Regions from separate parts of the Homo sapiens genome. Here region 1 is linked to region 2. Evidence: promoter capture Hi-C in human tissues and cell types (Jung and others, 2019). All regions are on one chromosome and are shown on one strand. Each heading gives the region's core, a stretch centred on a gene start or on the middle of the fragment in contact. The rest is flanking DNA. Distances are from core to core; before and after follow the strand shown.

Region 1 (5,328 bases), core at 2,036-4,535, 540 kb before region 2:
TATCTCCTCCATGGGATTACAGGAACCATAAGAACAGAGGCCAAGGTCCCATCTGTGTTTTTATGCCTGTCATTAATTATGGTGCCTGGCATATGTTAGGTGCTCAATATATATTGTTTAAAAGAATGGGTTTTCTTTTTTTAAATATATTTTCCACCTTTTATTTCCATCGGTATCATCCATTTAAAAAGAATAACAGGAAGATTCCCATCAGTCTAAACTGGACCACCCATGCTTTATGAAAAAGTTGGAGCATTTCAGCCGGCCCCACATGACCCACCCTGCCTTCAGTTAGAGGAGCTTCTAGTGCCTTCTGGAAGGGAGGAAAAGTCTCGGATCCACCTGGCACTCAATCCACTCAGCACTTGGCTGCTGCTGCCGTCCTGGGGCCGGAGGGAACTCCCACTGAATGCACTTCTACAGAGGAGTGTGTGGTGCAGTGAGGATGGTTACTGCTGGAGCCAACACACAGTGAACTACATACTTTTAGAAAGAGCCTCTGTCACATAGATAGAACCAAAAGAAAACCCAGAAAAAACCTTGAGAAAATATATTTAAATCTCTGATAGGTCTCTTAGCTAGCAGTGAGTTCAGTATGACAGCATAGAGTCTAAAAATATTAATTAAAAATAAGTTGCTTTGGTTAGCATTTAATCCTTCCCCAAGAATGGGTTTTCTTATGTAACACCAACACTAATTATTTGTGATAAATACATAAGAGTCTAAGTAATATACTAAAATTATCCTAGTTCATCACCTATTATTAAACATTCAGGTTCTTTTCAGGTGTGGTTTTGGGGGTTTTTTTCTGTGAAAAGTTTTACTGCTAGAGACTTCTTTTTCAAATAGAATTTTCTCTTATTTGAATAATTCAAAAAAACTTATTTACACGTTTTCCCTTGGGGCATGTTGGCCTTAAATGATCACACTGATTAGTCAAACTACTAATTAATTTAGAAGAGAGTATAAGTCAAAATGATTGTTTGGCAGATCCATTAAGACTTGAACAATAGCCTCATAATAATAGCTAGTAATATGTAGCTCTTTACAAAACTGCCCCAAGCCAAAACTGAGCTTTGTTAAGCATGGTCCCATAACTTCCCTCTATAATAATGGGGCTGGAAGTCTGAAAACTACATTTCCCAGATCTCTTTGGCAGTTGGCTTCCAGTTAAGTTTTGTCTAACTGGCAGGAAAATCAAGACAAGAGAGGAAGGGAGATGTCTTTGTTTCTCTCTCTCTCTCTCTCTCTCTTTCTCTCTCTGTCTCTCTCTCTTCTCCTGCTTCTCTCCTTTCTTCTTCTGATAGTGTTTCTTCCACCATCTCAGCTTTTTACTTCTTTTGAGACAGGGTCTTGGTCTGTCACTCAGGCTGGAGTGCAGTGGTGTGATCATGGCTCACTGAAGCCTCAACCTCCCCAGGCTCTAGTGATCTTCCCATCTCAGCCTCCCAAGTAGCTGGCACTACAGGCACACATCACCACCATCACGCTTTTGAGGCTGTAATCCACTTTCTGTGCTCTTAGGTTCTGGAAACCCCATCACCATTCTTTTGTTCCTCCAGCCCTAGATAATATCTGATTTACCTTAATTTCCCCTTTTTTGCTCTTTGACTGTCTAAGATCGTTGTAGCCTATTGCCTGTATTAAATATCCTCTGTATGAAATACATAGGTTGGTTTCTTTTTCTGACTAGACTGTGATTGATACAATAAAAACAAAATTTTTTAATGAGGAATTGCTCATCTTACTTGGTTTTTGCCCACTTTGGTCTCCAAAATCTAGACTTTTGAAGTCAATCAGGGTACACTCATCCAAAATATCCCTGTATCACTGTATTGATTGTGTTTTTGTATTTTTTACATTTTGTGATGTTTTGACATCTTAAAAAGCTTTCTGACCAAGGGGAGACTGTTCCTTCCTGGCCAGTCCCTTCTTAGTCTCAGTAAAAGACTCAGCAAGGAGTATGTTTCTTATGTACAAACAAACCAATCCCACATCTCTAGCCTCAACCACCTCCTTCTATAACTCTCACATATCAAGCCAATATTTCCTCTGTCCTAAATCATCCCAGTGCCAGGTACCAGGCAACTAGAGACCACTGCTATAGCTCAAAGCCCACCAGAATTATTCAAACTAGTCAGCCCTAATCTGTCCACTCTGCCCTGCCTTGCGTTTCCCGCAGAAACCCCAGCTCTATCTCAGGCTCTCCCCGCACTCTTGTCTTCTGCCACCTGACCCAAACCTGGTGCTTCTCCTGTGGCCCAGTATGGCATGTGGCGAATTCCTCTCTGGGATCTGTGAGTATAATCAACTTTTTCTTTTCAAGCTTTATTCTCATTCCCTCTTGCGGTCATGCCAACTTTACCACACCATAGCCCACATGAACATTCTTAGAATAATAACAGTGTTTCCTAAGCTCTATTCCTCATATTATTTGTGTCCAGAAGGATTTTAATAGGTGCTCATTAAAAAAAAAGGTTTCATAGTTAGGCCAGGCACAGTGGCTCACGCCTGTAATCCCAACACCTTGGGAGGCCAAGGAGGGTGGATCACTTGAGGTCAGGAGTTCAAGACCAGCCTGGCCAACATGGTGAAACCCCGTCTCTACTAAAAATACAAAAATTAGCTGGTCATGGTGGCAGGTGGCTATAATCCCAGCTACTTTGGAGGCTGAGGCAGGAGAGTCACTTGAACCCAGGAGGCAGATGTTGCAGTGAGCCAAGACCGCACCACTGCACTCCAGCATGGGCGAAAATAGTTAAATGAATTTGGGGCATGCTGGGTTAAAGTTCAACAAGCTTCTTCACTGAAGGACTTCTCAGAGCCTTTAATATACAAATGTGCATTTTGAATCTCCAAGAGTGTTTCCCAATTTTTTTAACCAACTAGTCTTTTATCACACAAAGTACAGTTATATATCTAGAGATGATAGCCTTTCAAGGAACACTATTTGGGAAGTGCTAGTCTACAGTAATATTTCAAAAATTATTTTAGTGTCTGTATGAAGAAGATATTAAGAGGTTAAGAATGGCTAAAGTCATATTTTGTATAAAAATCAAAGAGTACCAAAATATTGATATGCATCTGACTATACAGATTACAGAATTATTATATGTCTTCAGCTGCTCTTCTTTAGGGATGTGGCAATAACCTTTATTCCACCAGCTAAGGGAATGGTTATGGTCCAGGAAAAATGTTCTTCTGCTTTTATTCCTTGCTGTCAGGCTAGAATGTCAAGCCTCTTATTACAAGAACACTGTTACTAAATCTCAGCCTTTGCTTATTCCCTGTGAATATGGCAGTCTTTAAGTAGAAAATAGTTATCATTCTACTTCGTTTTCTTTCTTTTCTCAGGAGATTAAAAAGGGATTAGCTGTAAGAATATAAGCGGAACCTTAAAAGGAAGTTCATGGAAACCCACAAAGTAGAACACTAGCTCAGCAAGGCCTCATAAGAACTGGAATAGAGAACTCAAAGGCATCGTGAACTAAGTGTGTGCCCTCTTCTCCTCCTTCTCTCTGTCTCTGTCTCTATCTTCCTCTGTGCCTCTCTCCCTCCCTCCTCATGCCATATCTACTTCTTTCAGAGGTTGCTGCCTTGTTTTCCCCTCCCCACTGCCTGGGCTCTGTTTAACCTCAGCATGAACATGGATCACAGGGGCTGTCCCTGTCTCAACTGGCACAATTGCCACCTGCGGTCCCCAAGGGCCCCATCTCTCAGTTTTATCACTGCATGATTTCTATGGGCAGTTTCACTTCCTCCTGTGCTCAGCAAAACGCTGACTGTGAGCTGTGTGATAATAAAACTCTCCTTCTCGAACCTGAAGTTTGCATTTTCTCTCTGAGGAAAAGTATTCTGAATACTGGATAATGGGAGGAGGGTTTTAAATCTCTTTTTGCAAAAACAGAATTTTCCTTCCTTCCTAACAAAAGTTGGCTTAAAGTCCAAAATTATAAAGGCTTCTTGTTGACATGATCTGTCCCTGCTTCACCCCTTCCCCAACCTTAGACTCTCTAAGGCTCCCCCTCAGTCTTTCTGGCCCACCTACCACAGCCTTGCTGCATTCTCTTAGATTTGCACATTTACATATTCTGCCCTTTCTACCTGGAACTCACTCTCCCTTTTCACCTGGTTAATTCCGACTCATCCTTGAGATCTCAACTCTGTTGTCACTCCCCTAGGGAAGCTCTGCCTGACCCCCCTAATCATCTCATCATCAAACCCAGTCTGAAATTGGTTGGTGTGGTTATTGTACAAATTCCTTTCTTACTTATTAGTATGTGAGTCCAGAGGCCATGTCTGGTTTTGTCCATTATTGTATCCCCTGCATCAGATAGCAGAGAGCACCTGGTGGGCTTTAATAAAAATTTGATTGAATCCATTCTGTTCCTTAGTAATCATATGGTTCATCTTTAAGCTCTTTAACTAGTCTCATATAAAACAATTTTGGGCTGGGTACAGTGGCTCATGCCTGTAATCCCAGCACTTTGGGAAGCCGAGGCAGAAAGATCACTTGAAACCAGAAGTTTAAGACCAGCATGGGCAGCATAGCAAGATCCTATTTTTACACACACACACACACACACACACACACACACACACACACACATACACAATGTTAATTAGCTGAGCATCATAGCATGTGCCTGTACTCCTAGCTCTTTGGGAAGCTGAGGCGGGAGGATTGTCCAGGAGTTCAAGGCTGCAGTGAGCTATGATCACGCCATTCACTGCACTCCACACTAAGCAACAGAGTGAGACCCTATCAAAAAAAAAAAAAAAAAAAACTGTCCTTGTTTTATAATTTCCTATTCTTCTTTCATGCATATAATGCCCTCTTTTATCTATTTAAAGATATTAAATATAATTGCTTTTCTTTTAAAGGCCTGTGCTGATGGCTCTATTATCTATGTTTCCTTGATTATAAGAACTTGTCTTGTTTATTTCATTTTAATGGGTTTCCTCAGATGTTTGGCAATTTTTCATTGAGTGTTCATGTTCTCTGGCAGAAGATTTTCACATGTGGCCTGTGAGGCAGCTTTCCGCTGTAGTCTCAGGACAGAGTCACTGTTTACTCACTTCACGCTTAAAATTTTGTAACATTTTTCTCTAACACGGTTTACTTCAGTTTGTCTTGACAAAAACTCTAGATGGTAGACAGAGCATGTAATATCATTATCTTTATTTTACAACTAAATAAAATTCTGAGAAATTGTGTCTTCCCCAAAATGATGCGGTTGATATAATATCAGAGCCAAACTCAGACTCAACCATCTGAGTGCCTATCCCAGCATCATCACACCACACCACAGCTGCCCATGCAGTTGA
Region 2 (5,225 bases), core at 2,544-5,043:
AGAGACCGGGTCTCGGTGTGTTGCCCAGGCTGGTCTTGAATTCCTGGCCTCAAGTGATCACCTAACCTTGACCTCCCAAAGGAGGGATTAGGAGGTGTCAACTGGGATTACAGGTGTCACCCACCATGCCAGCCCCACCCTCTCATCTTATAGTTGAGGAAACAGAGGCCTGAGGGGGTGAAATGATCCAAGCCAAGCTGGGTTGGGTTCTGTTACTAGATTTAGTAACAGAACCAAATTCTAGCTCAGTGCTCCCCACTTCTGCTTCTATAGTGCTCTCCCTAGAGTCCTTGGCTCCCTCCCAAGGATGAGATATCAAAAACATCACTGTGCTGTGAGCGCAGCACCACTTCAGCAACAGACCCTCCCTTCTTCTGCCTGTACCATACCATAAATGCCAAAATTCTTGGACAGAGACTGGCTGCAGAAGAACTCAAAGCCTTGAGACACAAAGTATTGTAAGATTCTAGTATCTTCTTCCAAGTCACTGGTGTATAAACCTTGACAGGGAATATCAAAAAATGGGAATATCTGCTTGCTCTGTAGGAGAAAGGAGAACAAAAAAAGAATGAGACAGATGGAGGAGAGAGCAGAGAGTCAAAGACAGGAAGGTCGGGTGGGAGATTGGGTTTACCTTTATCATGGACATCAACTTTGCCCACCCACTTGGTGTCAACTTGCAGTCGATAATGTTCCCCATCACAAGGACACAGCCATGTGGGATCTGCTGCAGGTACAGACGGTCTCATCAGGCTTCACCCCCACCCAGGAGTGGCGGCCCCAGGGCATTTGGGGGTGAAGTGCTCCTCCATGTTAGTTACCATTGAAGGGCCAGGCAAATTCAAACCTGGAAAAGGTCTTGGATGACTTAAGAGGTGTGGGGAGGAGAGGAACATTAGGCTGTAAGTCAGCTCTAGGGAGGAGTTTCTGAGCGGGGCCCCTCTACCTCCACCACATTGAGGAGTATGTCGGGGTCCATGCATAGCTTCTTGGGGTCCCAGACAGAGTATTCATAAACTGTAAAGCCCATGTCCTGGAAGACGAGTCCATGCAGTTCTGTGGGAACACAGCCCCCCACTAGCTGGTACATGGGAAACAGAGAGACGGAGACAGAGGTACTGGAGTGTGGGGCTGAGAGTCACTGGCTGAAGGTGGGACATTAACAGGAAAAGGACATAAATAGCTTGGCTTGTCTGCCATTTTGCTCATGACAGAGAATGAGGGATAACAGTGAAGATGGCAAATGGGGTGAGGATTAGGAACAAGGGACGGGGATTGCTGTTCCCCTCATCTTGGGTAAGACTAACCTTTTTGAGAAGAGATGATGTAAACTATACGAGCATCCTTATGCCAAGCTCTGAGAAACTGGACGCCAAGCTGGAAGGCACCACTGTCACCAACAGTGTGTACACCCCCTACCTGCCAGCAAGACATAGACACAAATAGGCCAGGTGTGGTGGCTCACACCTGTAATTCCAGCACTTTGGGAGGCTGGGGTGGGTGGATCACTCGAGGTCATGGCCAACATGTTGAAACCCCGTATCTACTAAAAATACAAAAATTAGCCGGATGTGGTGTTGGGCATGTGTAATCCCCGCTACTCAAGAGGCTGAGGCAGGAGAATCACTTGAACCCGGAAGGCGGAAGTTGCAGTGAGCGGAGATCAGGCCACTGCACTCCAGTCTGGGTGACAGAGTGAGACTCCGTCTCAAAAAAATAATAAGTAAATAAACATTAAAAAATAAAAAGAAATAGACAGAAATAACACTCTAAAACAGTAATGGAGGCGAGACGCAGTAGCTCATGCCTGTAATCCCAGCACTTTGGGAGGACGAGGCAGGGAATCCCCTGAGGCCAGGAGTTTGAGACCAGCCTGGCCAACATGGTGAAACCCTGTCTCTACAAAAAATACAAAAATTAGCTGGGCGTGATGGCACATGCCTGTGATTCCAGCTACTCAGGAGGATGCAGCACCAGAATTGCTTGAACCTGGGAGGTGGAGGTTGCAGTGAGCTGAGATGGCACCACTGCACTCTAGCCTGGGTGACAGAGTGAGACTCTGTCTCAAAAAATATATATAATAGGTTAAAAAATAAAACAGTAATGGGAATACTAACACCACCTCCAATTCAGATCATTCCTGTCTTGAAAGAGCTTTCAAATCAGCAGTGTGAGCAGGTGGGAATACCACTGGACTGAGATTCCGATCCTGACTCGATGGCTAAGGACTTGTGGACTCTCTGAGCCTCAGGTATCTCTTTTATCAATACCAGGGGGCCCTCCGAGGTCCCCTTCGGGTTTAAGGTTGTGCAGACCCAGATCGCCACTCTCTGTGTCTAAATGAGCCAGGGGAGGGCCCACCTTCTCACCCTGTTCTCCACAATGGCTTGGCTGTGCTTTCCAAAGAGGAGTGCTAGAGAGGCCTGGATGAATGATTTCAGGCCCATGGTGGGCAAGTACTCATAATTCAGGGAGGGATCCTGTGAAATCTGTAGTCGAGTCTTCTGCACCACGAGAGAAACCCAGGGATGGCCTTCATTTGTCATGCAGACTGTGAGGAAAACCACAGAGGGAGCTCCAGATGCCTGGTTTGGGCCCCCAGGGCTGAGCTCTGCAGACAGCCTGCAAACAAATCTCTCCTGGACTCCATGGGGCTGTGGGAAGGTGCCTGTGAAAATACAACTTTCCCTTTTCTTTTCTCCTTGATGAAAAGAATATGCTGTTAGTGAATGTGTATTATTTTTGTCTTTTTAAAAAAGACAACTGAAACCTATGCCATTTTAAAGGTTAAAAATTATACAAGCCCAGGATTGGTGGCTCAGGCCTGTAATCCCAGCACTTCGGGAGGCTAAGGTGGGTGGATCACTTGAGTTCAGGAGTTCAAGATCAGCCTGGGCAACATGATGAAACCCTGTCTCTACAAAAAAATACAAAACAGCCAGACATGGTGACCAGCGCCTGTAGTCCCAGCTACTCAGGAGGCTGAGGCAAGAGGATGGTTTGAGCCCAGGAGGCAAAGGTGGCAGTGAGCTGAGATCTTGCCACTGCACTTCAGCCTGGGCAACAGAGTGAGGCCCTGTCTCAAGAAAAAAAAAAAAAAAATATATATATATATATATATATATATATATATATATATATATGCAAAATGAGAGTTATAGGTAGATGAAGCTAAATAAAGGTAACCCTGACTTTCACAGTGGTGAGCCCCAGTTGCATAGCAGAAAGCTCAATCTGGAGAACCATTCTTGGTTCAAGAACAGGAAGAGAAAGAGAAAGAGAGAGAGAGGAGGTAAGAATCTGAAGAAGTGTGGGATGGCCATGCAGGCCCCCAAGCATAGAGTTGTGGAAGAGGACATAGCTCTCACCAAATCCCTAGAAGCCCCCAGAGAAGGGCAGAGAGCATGGAATGACCTGGGACCTTATCTGCACTTTTCCCCACTGGGTAATTCTGTTAACAAGAAAAGATCTCTCCACCCACAGAAGCTTGGGCTGCACCCCTCCCCCTGCAGCAGGGAACACTGTCCTCCTAGAGGCAGTTACCATCACTTAAGTCTTATACTTCAGAACTGCTAGGCATCTACCTCTATAGGCTAAGAATATCTTGTTCGGGTAATCATCTTGTTTGTAGGTCTTTAACAAGCTGCCCTCTAGCTTGTGGGCGAGGGGCACATCCATGAACACTGAAAGGGTGGGCATAACTGAAACGAAACTGGAGCCAAGACTATGTGTCTCTGCTCCTGTGTTCCGCTTCTGCCCAGAAGTCTTCCTCCAAGGCTGGGCCGGGCAGTCCTGCCTCTTCCTGGAACCTTGGCAGCCCCAGTGCAGAGGCGCTGGACAACGGGTTGCCAGGGCAACAGAACCTCATGATCTTTGTGGTGGCGATCCACAGGGGCCACAGGAACATTCCAGGGTACTTGAGGAGAATCCCCTCAGACAGCGGGCAGGGCAGGATAACAATCTCCGGAATTCCCAAGCCCGTTTCCCTCACTCAATGCCTTCTCTTCTCTAGCCCCAGGTGGCTCAGTCCAAAGTAACAAGCCCACTCCTTAGATGACAGGGCAAGGATAATGGGAGATTACTTAACAGATACAATGTACATTGTTGGGGTTATGGATACCCTAAAAGCCCTGACTTCACCACTATGCGATGTATGCATCTAACAAAATTACACTTGTACTTCACACATTTATACAAATTAAAAAAAAAAAAAAGAAAGAAAGACATAGGGCAAGGCAGGCAGCCAATAAGCCAGATAGGGCTTCTCCTGCAGAAGCAAAAACCCCAGATCACACACCAATGCAAGTCGAGGCATTGATTTCCATTTTGCAAAGTGCCCCAGATTTCAAAAGGAATAAAAAGCAAACACTGTTTTCTTCCACAGTTGTTTTAATAAAGAATCCTATTATTAGAATATAATTGGCAACTCACTAAGCCAGTCCTATTTCTCTCAGTTATCTAGAGCCAAGACTTCTACATATGTTTGTTAAGTTTCTTTTTCTTTCTTTTTTTGGTTTTTTTTTTTTTTGAGATGGAGTCTCACTTTGTCGATAGTCTCGAACTCCTTGCCTCAGGTGATCTGCCTGCCTTGGCCTCCCAAACTGCTGGGATTACAGGCATGAGCCACCACACCTGGCCATTTGTTAAGTTTCAATGACAGCCAACTAGTAAGTATAGACAGCAGAGGCCAAGGGGAGAAAAGAGCCAGCCTCTATAGAGTCAGTCTGCATATTGCTTGCTTTCTTTTCCTTTTGATGTTTAATGACTCTCTCTTTTTTTTTTTTTTTTTTTTTGAGACAGAGTCTCGCTCTTGCTGCCCACATTGGAGTGCAGTGGTGTGATCTCGGCTCACTGCAACCTCTGCTTCCCAGGTTCAAGAGATTCTCCTGCCTCAGCCTCCCGAGTAGCTGGGATTACAGGCATGCGCCACCACACCCAACTAATTTTGTATTTTTAGTAGAGAGGGGGATTTCTCCATGTTGATCAGGCTGGTCTCAAACTCCAGACCTCAGGTGATCTGCCCACCTGGGCCTCCCAAAGTGCTGGGATTACAGGCGTGAGTCACTGCGCCCGGCTTTTTTTTGTATTTTTAGTAGAGACAGGGTTTCACCACGTTGGCCAGACTGGTCTCAAACTCCTGACCTCAAGTGATCTGCCTACCTCAGCCTCCCAAAGTGTTAGGATTACAGGCATGAGCCACCACACCCAGCCTGATGTTAAATAAC

What was found. The method cuts DNA at HindIII sites, captures the fragments that hold promoters and counts their contacts. A contact is called where the count stands out against the background at its distance.
Region 1: a fragment that was not itself captured here is called in contact with the fragment with the promoter of GOT1L1 in region 2 in 1 of the 25 tissues and cell types used here (spleen).

What each region holds. Positions count from the first base shown.
Region 1 is chr8:37,398,351-37,403,678 of GRCh38, forward strand. It overlaps a transcript of LINC01605 not described here. Among named protein-coding and RNA genes, the nearest start is that of LINC01605, 200 kb to the right of the region's middle. The HindIII fragment of the contact is 7,143 bases long and covers 1-5,328 here.
Region 2 is chr8:37,936,331-37,941,555 of GRCh38, forward strand. GOT1L1 (glutamic-oxaloacetic transaminase 1 like 1) reads right to left here and starts at 3,794. Exons shown (of 9, transcript NM_152413.3): 1 at 3,585-3,794; 2 at 2,370-2,551; 3 at 1,308-1,419; 4 at 947-1,056; 5 at 635-727; 6 at 390-540. The coding sequence starts at 3,699. RefSeq lists an enhancer at 3,300-3,816. The HindIII fragment of the contact is 11,209 bases long and covers 1-5,225 here.